4 separate regions of the Homo sapiens genome follow, and regions 1, 3 and 4 are each linked to region 2. Evidence: promoter capture Hi-C in 16 types of primary human blood cells and fetal thymus (Javierre and others, 2016). All regions are on one chromosome and are shown on one strand. Each heading gives the region's core, a stretch centred on a gene start or on the middle of the fragment in contact. The rest is flanking DNA. Distances are from core to core; before and after follow the strand shown. Region 1 has its middle 5.4 kb from the start of SETD7. Region 2 holds the start of JADE1 (jade family PHD finger 1). Region 3 overlaps ELF2 (E74 like ETS transcription factor 2). Region 4 overlaps NOCT (nocturnin).

Region 1 (2,700 bases), core at 140-2,639, about 11 Mb before region 2:
GGGCTGGCTTAGCATCAAGCACCTCCGGGTGAGGGCTGCCTGTAGATCGAGGGTTGTCATTTCAGTGCCAGGTCCCAGAAACACTCTAATCAACCTGTCTTTGTTTGTGACTGAGTGAAGAGGACCACATGGGTATTTTCATTTCTGGATATTGGATTCAAAGCCAGACAGTCCCATTTGGAAAATGAAGAGGACACTTTGCCCTCCATCTATGTTATAGTAGATGGAATCTGCATCCTCAAGGTGGCGTTCCGTTGCCTAAGCTATCATAGCAAAGAGCCAACCTCTCCACTCCTGCACAGAATAGAAATATCTTTGAGCTGAGTGCCCAGGAAAACTTGGATGACTGTATCACAGGACAGGCCACGTGGGTCTTAATATGTCTCTGGTCTCTTTCTCAGAAATCATGGTAGCCTAAGAAGGTTGGCCCACTGTTGATGGCTTGTGAAGCAGAAATGAGGTGCTTTCCCAAGAACTTGAGAACCAGGTTGCTCTCAGAAAGTTTGACTACCAAAATCTGCACACTCAATGGTTTTGACTAGAATTCAGTGGGCATAAACCAAGAGAGTGACTCAATTTGTGACTGAGAAGTTTGAGGATTACCTCAAATTCCCATTAAAGTGACTTGGCTGTAATGCCAGGAAGATAGAGAATGTCATTATGACTTAGAAAGTGTAAATCTGCCTAATGGGCTGTATAGGACGCTGTGTGGAGAATCAGGTTTGGAGAAACTAGAGCACGGAGAAAGAAGCTTGAAGCCTCAGAAGCCATAGGGCCCATCTAAGCAGAGGTGAGTGGGATGGGTGGGCAGCCTCATTCTTTCAGAACACTGTATCAGAGTATTTGTCTTGTGGACCACACAACTAATGTCCTTCATTCTACTCCAGATAACTAAGCAAACTTTTGGATGGAATTTGTCTTCTCAAGTGCATTTATTTATATAGAGAGATCTTTTGCCCTGACAGTGTGAGTATTCTGATCTGTCCATCATAATTCAGGCATACATCTCAGTCTCTCGGGGTCTAGTTAATGTGAGTCCACTTGAGGAAGGTCAAGAGCTGACCCTTGATGAATGTTATGACATTTGTGGTAAATAGGTCAGCTGGAAATACTCCTCTGCCCATCCTGGATATTGTAGTGTCAAAAGAGTATACCATGTACCTGCCCTCTGCAATGTCTACTTTTGCAGAGGACCAATTGCAGGACTCAATAATCTTAATTTTAGCCTAGTAAAGTAATTTTTCAAAAACAATTAGAGAAAATAATATCTATGAAAACACATTTGGTTTTGGTGGCGGTTTGTCTTTATTTTTCAAGTTTCTGCAATCCTATTGTTTTTCTAAAGTAATTTCTAAAACAGATGCCCCTTTGAAAACTATTTCCAATTTTTCTTTGTGTGTGTGTGTGTGTGTGTGAGGGTTTTTTTTGTTGTTGTTTGTTTTTTTGAGATGGAGTCTCACTCCGTGGCCCAGGCTGGAGTGCAGTGCAGTGATGCCATCTCGGCTCATTGCAGCCTCCGCCTCCCAGGTTCAAGTGATTCTCCTTCCTCAGCCTCCCAAGTAGCTGGGACTACAGGCATGCACCACCAGTTTTTGTATTTTTGTAATTTTTGTATTTTTAGTAGAGACAGGGTTTCACCATGTTGGCCAGGCTGGTCATGAACTCCTGACCTCAGGTGATCCACCTGCCTCTGTCTCCCAAAGCGCTGGAATTACAGGCGTGACCCACCGTGCCTGGCCTCATTTTTTTTTTTTCAATCATTTCACTCAGCAGCTTCACTAGGCCCAAGCCTGACATAAGAGTTTTCATATCCCATAATGCAAAAAACCCCAAGAACTCTGTGAAGGAACAATATTGGCCCAGAGTCGACCCAAACAGGGAGATCTGGGCTGCATCTTCCCTCCCCTCCCCGCCCCAGAAAGTCTAAATTTAGTTTACTGGATACCCTGCAATGACATTAACATGTCATTGCAACATTAACATGTTGCAAAAACAAGAATCAAGCAAAAGAGAAAGAGGAAGCTTAATGTGGCATGAGGTATTTTAATACCATGGCAACTGTGGTGTCTTCTCTATTATTTAATTCACTTCCTTAGGTCAGGTTATTCTGCCCTCTCTCTCTTGCACTTCCTGTTGCTGTAATCAAATCAGGTCACCCTGAATCTGTAAGTCTTCTTCCTGACTGCACTCATGTCTATTTCCAGCAGAATGAATTTTCTCCATTTCTTTCTTTGCTCCCTGGACCTTTATTTGGTGCCCTTGATGTCCCTGCTCTTCCCAGTGCTCCACAAGCTGCAAACGCTTCCCTTTCATCCCCATCTCCTCCCCCACCCGTCTCCTCCTCGCTGCTCCTCTCCCAGCCCCTCCCTCCAGCTTCTGCAGTTGTCACTAACACAGTTAGCCACTTGATTAGTGACTCAGTGATTCAGAACCCAGGAACCTTGGTTCTCCTAAAACTTCCATGCTTCCCTCCCTAGAGTCAAGATAAAGGTTCTCCCCTCACCTGCCTGCCCAGATAGAGCCATTAACGTGAGAGGACTTGAGTATTCAGTTTGTTGGAGTTGCCCTGGCTTCTTCCCATTTCCTTTTTATGTGCCTTTTCCTGGGGCTTCTCAGGCTCTATTTACCTTTTCTCCAGAAAAGGTGGACAGAGAAGGTTTGAGCTTCGAATTTATGTAGCCCAACTCTTCATTTACAGAT
Region 2 (2,700 bases), core at 108-2,607:
AGGCACAAGACACGTGCACTGAAGGGCTCTGCAACTTGCAGTCCCGGGGTACACACTACACGTTCATTTAAGGAAGCAAGGAGACCAAGAGACCCCACCCCCACAATTTGCAGATGGTGCCAAAGGTTGCAATTTGCAATCCCCTTTAAGTTCACGATTAATCGGTACTTTGCTCTACCAACGCCAACTCCTACCCCATTTCATCGATTAAGGGGTTTTACACTTTACAAGCAGTCGCGCTGTAAGTAAAAGATCTGATCACTGGAAGCCCAGTTCGGAAGAATCTAATTGCCAAACTGTCCCTCCACCCCCACCCCCACCCCCCTCTCACTGCCCTTGAATTGATGCAATGAATATTTTGGACATGTGGTGACGCGGTGACAAGAGCCAGGGCTGCGGCCACCACACACAGATGTACCTACGCACACCTATGTTTGGACAAATACAGTCCCACCACACACACGGTCTCACACACTCTGGATTCATATATGTACGCGAACCTGCGTTCTGCCATTGCCATCTGTCTACCAAGTTGCTACTATGCTTTCCACTTTCATGCAGCCTAATGCACTTTGGCTTTCTAAAAAAAAAAAAAAAAAAAAAAAACCTATAAACTAAAGCCAACTTAAACTGGGCTTCTGCTCCTAAACGCGTTTAATTGATGATTCACCTGAAAACCGCATGTTCTTCGCAAATCCAAAAGAAGAAATAGCTCTAAGTCTTCAGCCCCCCAAATTTGAAAAAAAAAATCATAATAAAACTTACTGATCCAACATAGATCAATTCTCAGGATCCAAAAATCATCCTCTCCTCCTCCTCCGGCCCCCGCCCCGGCAATGCCCAAGTTACTGGTGGGATAGTAACGCTGCGCTCAGCGGCTGCCTCCCTCCCTCCTCGCTACAGATCGAGAACCCAATCTTTTGGCGCCATATTAATGACGTATTATATTATTTCCACTAGGCAGCGACCTTCGGCATTAAATTACTCCCGAGAACTCCCGAGCAAAGCAACAAAACCATCAAATATGGCTGAGCCTCTCGGCTCGTCCTGCAGCCGCCGCCGCCGCCGCCGCCGTCGCCGCCGCGGGACCGGGACGCGCACACGGACCCACACGCGGACACGCGCGGACACACGCGCGGCGCGCCCACCCCGCGCGCCCCCCGCGGCCCGCGCGCGTACCTGCTGCGGAGGGGTTCGGCCGAGGCGCTGGGCTGGGCGCCGCTCGCTCGCTCGGAGCTGCATGAGTTCGGGCCGCGGCGGGCGGGGAGCCGGGCGGGCCCCTGCTCTCGCCGGCGCGCACACACCGGGCACTCGCGCACGGAGGCACTCTCGGTCTGGCGTTTGGCTTGTTATGGAGGAAGGACTATGTGAATCAAACTCATTTCTGGGTCACTGCTGCCACAGGGGGGAGCACTTTAATCCCTTGCCAAAACGAGAGGGTGGGGACGGGAGGGCGGAGGGAGCATGCGGGGAGCCCGCGGCGCTGGGGCTCGGTCCCTCGTTAACTCTTCGCAGCCCTAGCCGCAGCCGGCTCAGCCTGCGCCAGTGGGGGCTCGCAAAGAACGGCACTGTTCAGCTCTTAGTCTCTTTCCTTACTTCACCCACCTTGTGAGCCTAGAAATTCTTGAGGTGTCTCCAAGCAAGTGGGTTTTTAAATTAGCCCCTTCAAACTGCTGTCCCAGTTTCAACTCTTGTCTGACATCTAGAAATGGATTCTTTCAGAATAGTTTAAAATTACGTAGATTAAAATATGGCTATTAAGATGTGTCATTTGGGTGAAAGGTTTTATTTTTAGGCTGAGTGGCAAAATAGTTGTTTGTAGTAACAGTTTTAGGGAGTTGCACATTAGGATGACATTTTTAAATAGAGAGAATCCAATTCTGAATAACATCTTTACCTAAATTTGTATGGAAGTGATCATTGCAAATGAGCATTAATTCATTAGAAGATATTATTTATAAATTGACACCACTTTATGTTACACATTACTACAGAATTGGACATCTTCTCCCAAATATGAGGAGTGAGCCTAATGCTAAAACTAGAATTGCAGACTAGTATCAGATCAGTCATCGGAGATTCATTTGGGGGTATTTATGTGTAAAAAGGAGTGGTTACTGATTTTCTGCAGAAGACAAGCTTGCTTTTTCATATAGAGGGCAACATACTTCTTTCATGGATTCATCTAGGGAAATAGAGGGGTATATGACATTCAACTTCAATAAGAAAAAAGTACGGATTAAAAACTCCCATTCAGGCCGGGCGCGGTGGCTCACGCCTGTAATCCCAGCACTTTGGGAGGCCTAGGTGGGCGGATCACCTGAGGTCGGGAGTTCAAGACCAGCCTGACCAACATGGATAAACCCTGTCTCTACTAAAAAATACAAAATTAGCCGGGCATGGTGGTACATGCCTGTAACCCCAGCTACTGGGGAGGCTGAGGCAGGAGAATCGCTTGAACCCGGGAGGTGGAGGTTGTGATGAGCCGATAATGCGCCATTGTGGTCCAGCCTGGGCAATAAGAGCGAAACTCCGTCTCAAATAAATAAATAAATAAATAGGAACAGTGATCACTAATTACAAAATTGAATATCGAACCCAAAAGGCATATGTGTCCACCGGAAGAATCTTTCTGAATATATCAGGTTTGATTTCATGTAATCCCACACCAGCCCAACTACCCACATCCAGACCCACATC
Region 3 (2,700 bases), core at 120-2,619, about 10 Mb before region 2:
ATCTTAACAGTCTTCCATCCATTGTTTTTAGGTAAGGGACTTGAAATTAGTAGTTTGCTTGGCAAAACTCTGTGACTCAGTTCGATGGGGGAAATCATGAACACATGTATCAAAATTTAACGGAAGCGCTCTAGGTTCAAAGTCTGAAATAATATGTATGTATTGAGTACAACACAGTGGTGACCAGTCTTTTATTCTATAAAATGTAAAAATATGTGTTTCAGAGGTTCCAAAGGAAAATGCAGTTTACTGAGTAGTGATTAAAACACATCTGTTTGACAGTTGCTTTCTGGTCAGAACAAGAACTTAAGTTTAGTAAGAGAGCACAATGAGAACTTGATTCCTTTGTATATATTGTCCATTACTACAATATGAATTAAGGGATGGAATTTTTGGCTTTATATTATTGGTACTAACGATACGTGAAGTTGTTGGGTCAATGATATTTCTGTGAATATTGAATATGTACAGTTCAAGAGATGTTGTTTCCAGTGGCTGCGAACACACGGAAAGAACCTTAGAATGCCTTTGCATCAAAACTTTGAAAAATACTGTAAAGGTAGGAGGGCTTCACTTTGCCATTGGAAACTATTTTTTCGTAAGCTTTTGGAATTACCGGTGAAACTGAATATGGCCTGTAGGTATTCTCCTTGGAGTATATATGTGTGTATATAAAAGACTGTCTTTGGTTTGAAAAGACAAAAGTTTTGTCTTTTGATAAGGGGTTTTAAAAAGTGCTGTTTTCCAGCTCTACTGCATTTCTGTACTATATACGAATCTTAAAGTTTATGATAATAATGTTCTGTAAAGAATATGTTTTACATACAGTTATTTTCAAGTTATGTCACCAATTATGTTCATGTAATCTGAAGCTCCCTTACAAGCCTTATTTTAGAAGGAAACTTGAGAGAGGTTTGCTCTTTTACCCAAGGTTTATTCAGTGTGTTAAAAGTTAGGGAGGAAAGATGGCCCAGAAGATTAGGAATCATGATTCTAAATTTTTATTGCTGCCAATTTTCAATAGCATTGGTAGGATAATGTTTCTAAAGTTTGTATTTGTGTAATGGACAGAATACCTTTTTATCTCCTTGAGGGAGGTCATCAGGTGTGACAGAGAATTCTTCCTCACAAAGATTTTACAGTCTGGGGAGACAGGTGAAAATCTATATAATGTATAAATGTAAAAAATAGTTCCAGTGATTGCTATAATGGGTTGATGATTAGTGTAGAATGATATTTATACAACTTCTAGAGGAGATAAGCTTTAGGTTAATATTTTCAGCATAACATGTTTCTAAGCAAGTATATAACACTTAATATTATCACTGTCGCTACATGTTAAGGTACATGTTAAGCTCGAATATACTTTTGCTTTTCTTCCTTTTGAGGTGTTAAGTATCACATGTGCATTCCTTTAGCTATAAACATTTATGCTGCCAGAGGAGTTTGAGTAAAGGATGAAATAAATAAGCTTATTTATTAAAACTCACTGTCATTTTACAAAGTATGTTTGTAGTAAAGACTCGACGTACTTTAAAATTTCATGGACAATATGATGTATGAGAACGAGCCTTGACCCTGAAGAGTTGAGGATCTATATCTAGCTGTCACTAAACTAGCTAGTGACTTAACATCTTTAGGGCTTCATTTTTCTCTAAGAAGACAGGGTTGACTAGATGATTGCTAATGACTTTTAAAGCTCTAAAATAAGTGGCTTGGAAATACTTAATGGAAAGGTAGGGCTTCTCCTTGGGTTTTTTTTTTTTTTTCTAATATTACACCATGTGAATGAATATGTCTATAAGTTCGTTATGTAATTGGTAGGTTAACTTCTTTTATCCAGTCTTTGAAAATAAAAATGTGTGCCAAATTGGAACTTGAGGCTCTTTATATGTTTAAGTCTGTAATATAGTCTAATTAATAATTTAGGCTCATTTCTAGTGTATATAGCTTAATATAGGAAAAACAAATGTCTAGCATTGTTACTTTCCTAATATTTATGTTAAAGTATTGTGTATGAACAGTCTGGATTTTCTGGAAGATTTCTGCCTTATTCTCAAGTATACCTTTCTTGACTTTTTCCTTTATTTGTCTTTTCTTATTTTATTTTATTTTTACATTTGCGAAATAAGGTAATCAGAAGTTTTGGTCAACAATGCAGTTATTAAATGAAGGTGAAATTTTTCTGGAAATTTAGCCTAAATATTTTCACTGACAGAAAACAAATCTATTTTATTAAAGTTCATTATGAAATTGAAAATCTCATTTCTGATTTACTATAAATTGGAATATGTAGTCTCAATCTTGAAAAGATCAAATTGAAAAAAAATTAGCAGTATGAAAAGAAGTTAAAAGCAGTATGTGAATAGATACATTAAAATGAAACTCAAGGAATGACACTAGTTTTCTTTTTAAAAAGCTCATTTGAAAATGAATTTAAGAAATTACCCTTCACAATTCATTGCAGCATTGGTACTAAAATTCATGTAAAAACTGAGTTACATGGTCACATCAGTCAGTGTGTAAATAGCCAATCAGAATCATTCAACATAAAACTATTTTAGAAACAAATTTGGTTGGTGGAGAAGGGCAGGCAGCAGAATGTTCTTGATAACTATTTAAAATAATTCCTCATGTTTGATAATTGTTTAAAATGATTCCTTGTGTCATCTATAGCAAAATGTTCAAAAGGATGCAAAG
Region 4 (2,700 bases), core at 78-2,577, about 10 Mb before region 2:
GGTGCGTGCCACCACGCCCAGCTCATTTTGTATTTTTAGTAGAAATGGGGTTTCTCCATGTTGGTCAGGCTGGTCTCGAACTCCCGACCTCAGGTGATCCGCCTGCCTTGGCCTCCCAAAGTGCTGGGATTACAGGCTTGAGCCACTGTGCCCGGCCCTGGAATTTCTTCCCTTTCTTAAAAGCTGCTTTTGGCGGGGCGTGATGGCTCATGCCTGTAATCTCAGCACTTTTGGATGGCTGAGGCGGGAGGATTGCTTGAGCCCAGGATTTCGAGACCAGCCTGGGCAACACGGCAAAACCCGTCTCGACAAAATATACAATTTTTTAAAGCTGCTTTTTTCGGGGGTCAATGTTCTTTCTCAGGGGTCTCTTGAACTGCCTTAGGCCCCAAGCTCAAAGATCCTTTTTTTTTTTTTTTTTTTGAGACAGAGTATTGCTCCTACTGTCGCCCAGGCTGGAGTGCAATGGCGCAATCTCGGCTCACTGATACCTCCGCCTCCTGGGTTCAAGTGATTCTCCTGCCTCAGTTTCCGAAGCAGCTGGGATGTACAGGTGTGCACCACCACACTTGGCTATTTTTTTTCTAATGTAAGTAGAGACAGGGTTTCACCATGTTGCCCAGGCTGGTCTTGAATGCCTCAGTTCAAGTGATCCGCACCTCGGCCTCCCAAAGTGCTGGGATTACAGGCGTGAACCACTGTGCCCGGCCAGACCAAAGGTCTTAAGGCTCTTCCAGAATCCTCTCCAGAGCTTCTCAAGCTTTCCAGGAATAAGTACCTTTGGGGAAAGGAGGGGCAGAGCTCATAAATACTCCCTAATCTTTTTGGAAGAATCCCCTGAGGCACTTGTTAAATATGCACTCCACCGGGCTTCTCCACAGGAAACTGATCAAGCAGAGGGCTGAAAGGCCAGAAATCTGCATTTTAACAACTGTCCCAAATGATTCTGCCTCTACCCCTTTTCCTAAGATGCTTGCCACAGCTCCTGCATGCGAGCGCCACCTTCTTCCAGGCATTGTGTGTGTGGTCTTCTCTGCCTGCCCCCACCACCCCGCAAACTGTCCCCTTCCAAAACACCCTCCTTTTTCACCTATTAGAAGCAAAGCATTTCTTGACAAATTCAGCCACACTGATTTCTTTCTTCTCAACTCCCACTGCAATTAGTCATGTCACCTTTTACATGTACTATTCAATAAAGCTTGTGGATAAATTGCTATCAATTGATCTTATTCATTTGTTCTAGGTAAAGTCTAGTGTTGAGACAGCAAGCAAGGTTAAATGATTTACAAATGTTAAGTGTGTGGAATGTGAATCTGGAGCCATGGTTATTAACCCCAAAGAACCCCAGTTCACCATGTTTAAACTGTTGCCATTGAATGCTAACAGAAAAATCATACATTAGTTTTCCCACAAGGAAAGCAATTTATTCCATAGCAGCTTGATAATGACAAGCTTTCCCGTTTCTTCTCTCTCATAAGCAGTTTACTCACATAGTTAAAGGACATATTAAATAAAGCTGCCTTCTCAAATGAGCTGGTGGCATTTGCCTATAAATTGTACCATGAAAAAAAGCAAATGTTCTAATGGTAGAGAACAGTAGTTCAGCCAGCTCTTCATTCTCTGAGGAGGAGGGATGTGGAGGATAGCATTTATAAATCCACAGATGACTTCCAACTGCGTTTCATCCAGTACAGTAACTGTGGCAACTGCTACTTCTTAGGGGGGCTGCTATCCTTGAGAAAAGAAAGCCAAACACCGAGATCATCCCTAGGGTCACCTTTTAATTCTAACAACCTGGAATCTGATAACTCCAAAGGGACTGTACTTATCTTCCCAATAACTACCAATTGCCAAGGGGCATAAGTTATGCAGGAACTGATTAGCAAATGTGGACAGCTGTCGGGACTCACTACTCCCCACCACAAGGCTCAGGAGTGGAGAGGAGCTTTTGGCCCCTTCAATGTCTCTCTCACATATGGGTGCCAGATGTCCAAATTTGAGGGCATAGAAGAACAATCTGGAGTTATTCTTTTTGTCATTTCATTTGGTTATGTGGAATCCAGGGCCCATCATGAATGACTCAGACTTAATAGGTCTACAGTAGGATCCAAGAATCTGCATTTTAAAAAAGCACTTCATAGGCTGGGCGCAGTGGCTCACACCTGTAATCCCAGCACTTTGGAAGGCCAAAGCAGGTGGATCACCAGAGCTGGGGAGTTTGAGACGAGCCCGGGCAACACGTTGAAATCCTGTCTCTACTAAATACAAAAATTAGCCCGGCACAGTGGCGTGTGCCTGTAGTCACAGCTGCTCAGGAGGCTGAGACAGGAGAACTGCTTGAGCCTGGGAGGTGGAGGTTGCAGTGAGCAGAGGTGGCGCCACTACACTCCATCCTGGGCAACAGTGCGAGAGAACCTTGTCTCAAAAAAAATAAAAATAAAAATTAAAATTAAAAAGCACTTAGTGCTGGGTCTGAGGCTCTTTGGAAAACAATGTCCATTTTTGCAAAGTGCCTCTTCTCTCACCCTTCCTCATCTGTGTGTGTCTCATGCCTTTCTGCATTTACTCCTGCTTTTTCCAAACAAAACGCTTTATAGTAATCTCTTCCAATCCTAACCATGCTTCAAGAGCCAGCTGAAATGCCACCCATTTCTAGAAGCCCAAAAGGGACTTCCTGCTTTCCTGCACCCTTGTGCCATT

Evidence for each region. Contacts are between HindIII fragments. The CHiCAGO score rates a contact against its expected background, and 5 or more counts as called.
Region 1: a contact is called between a fragment that was not itself captured here and the fragment with the promoter of JADE1 in region 2, in 1 of 17 cell types (total B cells). The highest score is 11.0, in total B cells.
Region 3: a fragment that was not itself captured here is called in contact with the fragment with the promoter of JADE1 in region 2 in 6 of 17 cell types (naive CD8 T cells, activated CD4 T cells, naive CD4 T cells and 3 more); the score reaches 8.5 in naive CD8 T cells.
Region 4: a fragment that was not itself captured here is called in contact with the fragment with the promoter of JADE1 in region 2 in 2 of 17 cell types (naive CD8 T cells and total B cells); the score reaches 6.9 in naive CD8 T cells.

The regions. Positions count from the first base shown.
Region 1 is chr4:139,560,248-139,562,947 of GRCh38, reverse strand. No RefSeq gene overlaps it. Among named protein-coding and RNA genes, the nearest start is that of SETD7, 5.4 kb to the right of the region's middle. The HindIII fragment of the contact is 1,271 bases long and covers 754-2,024 here.
Region 2 is chr4:128,808,357-128,811,056 of GRCh38, reverse strand. JADE1 (jade family PHD finger 1) reads right to left here and starts at 1,357. Exons shown (of 11, transcript NM_199320.4): 1 at 1,180-1,357. RefSeq lists silencers at 425-544, 1,055-1,534 and an enhancer at 845-954. The HindIII fragment of the contact is 6,052 bases long and covers 1-2,141 here.
Region 3 is chr4:139,080,013-139,082,712 of GRCh38, reverse strand. All of the region lies in intron 4 of ELF2 (E74 like ETS transcription factor 2), which reads left to right. Among named protein-coding and RNA genes, the nearest start is that of NOCT, 66 kb to the right of the region's middle. The HindIII fragment of the contact is 209 bases long and covers 1,265-1,473 here.
Region 4 is chr4:139,018,794-139,021,493 of GRCh38, reverse strand. All of the region lies in intron 1 of NOCT (nocturnin), which reads right to left. Among named protein-coding and RNA genes, the nearest start is that of NOCT, 4.4 kb to the right of the region's middle. The HindIII fragment of the contact is 254 bases long and covers 1,201-1,454 here.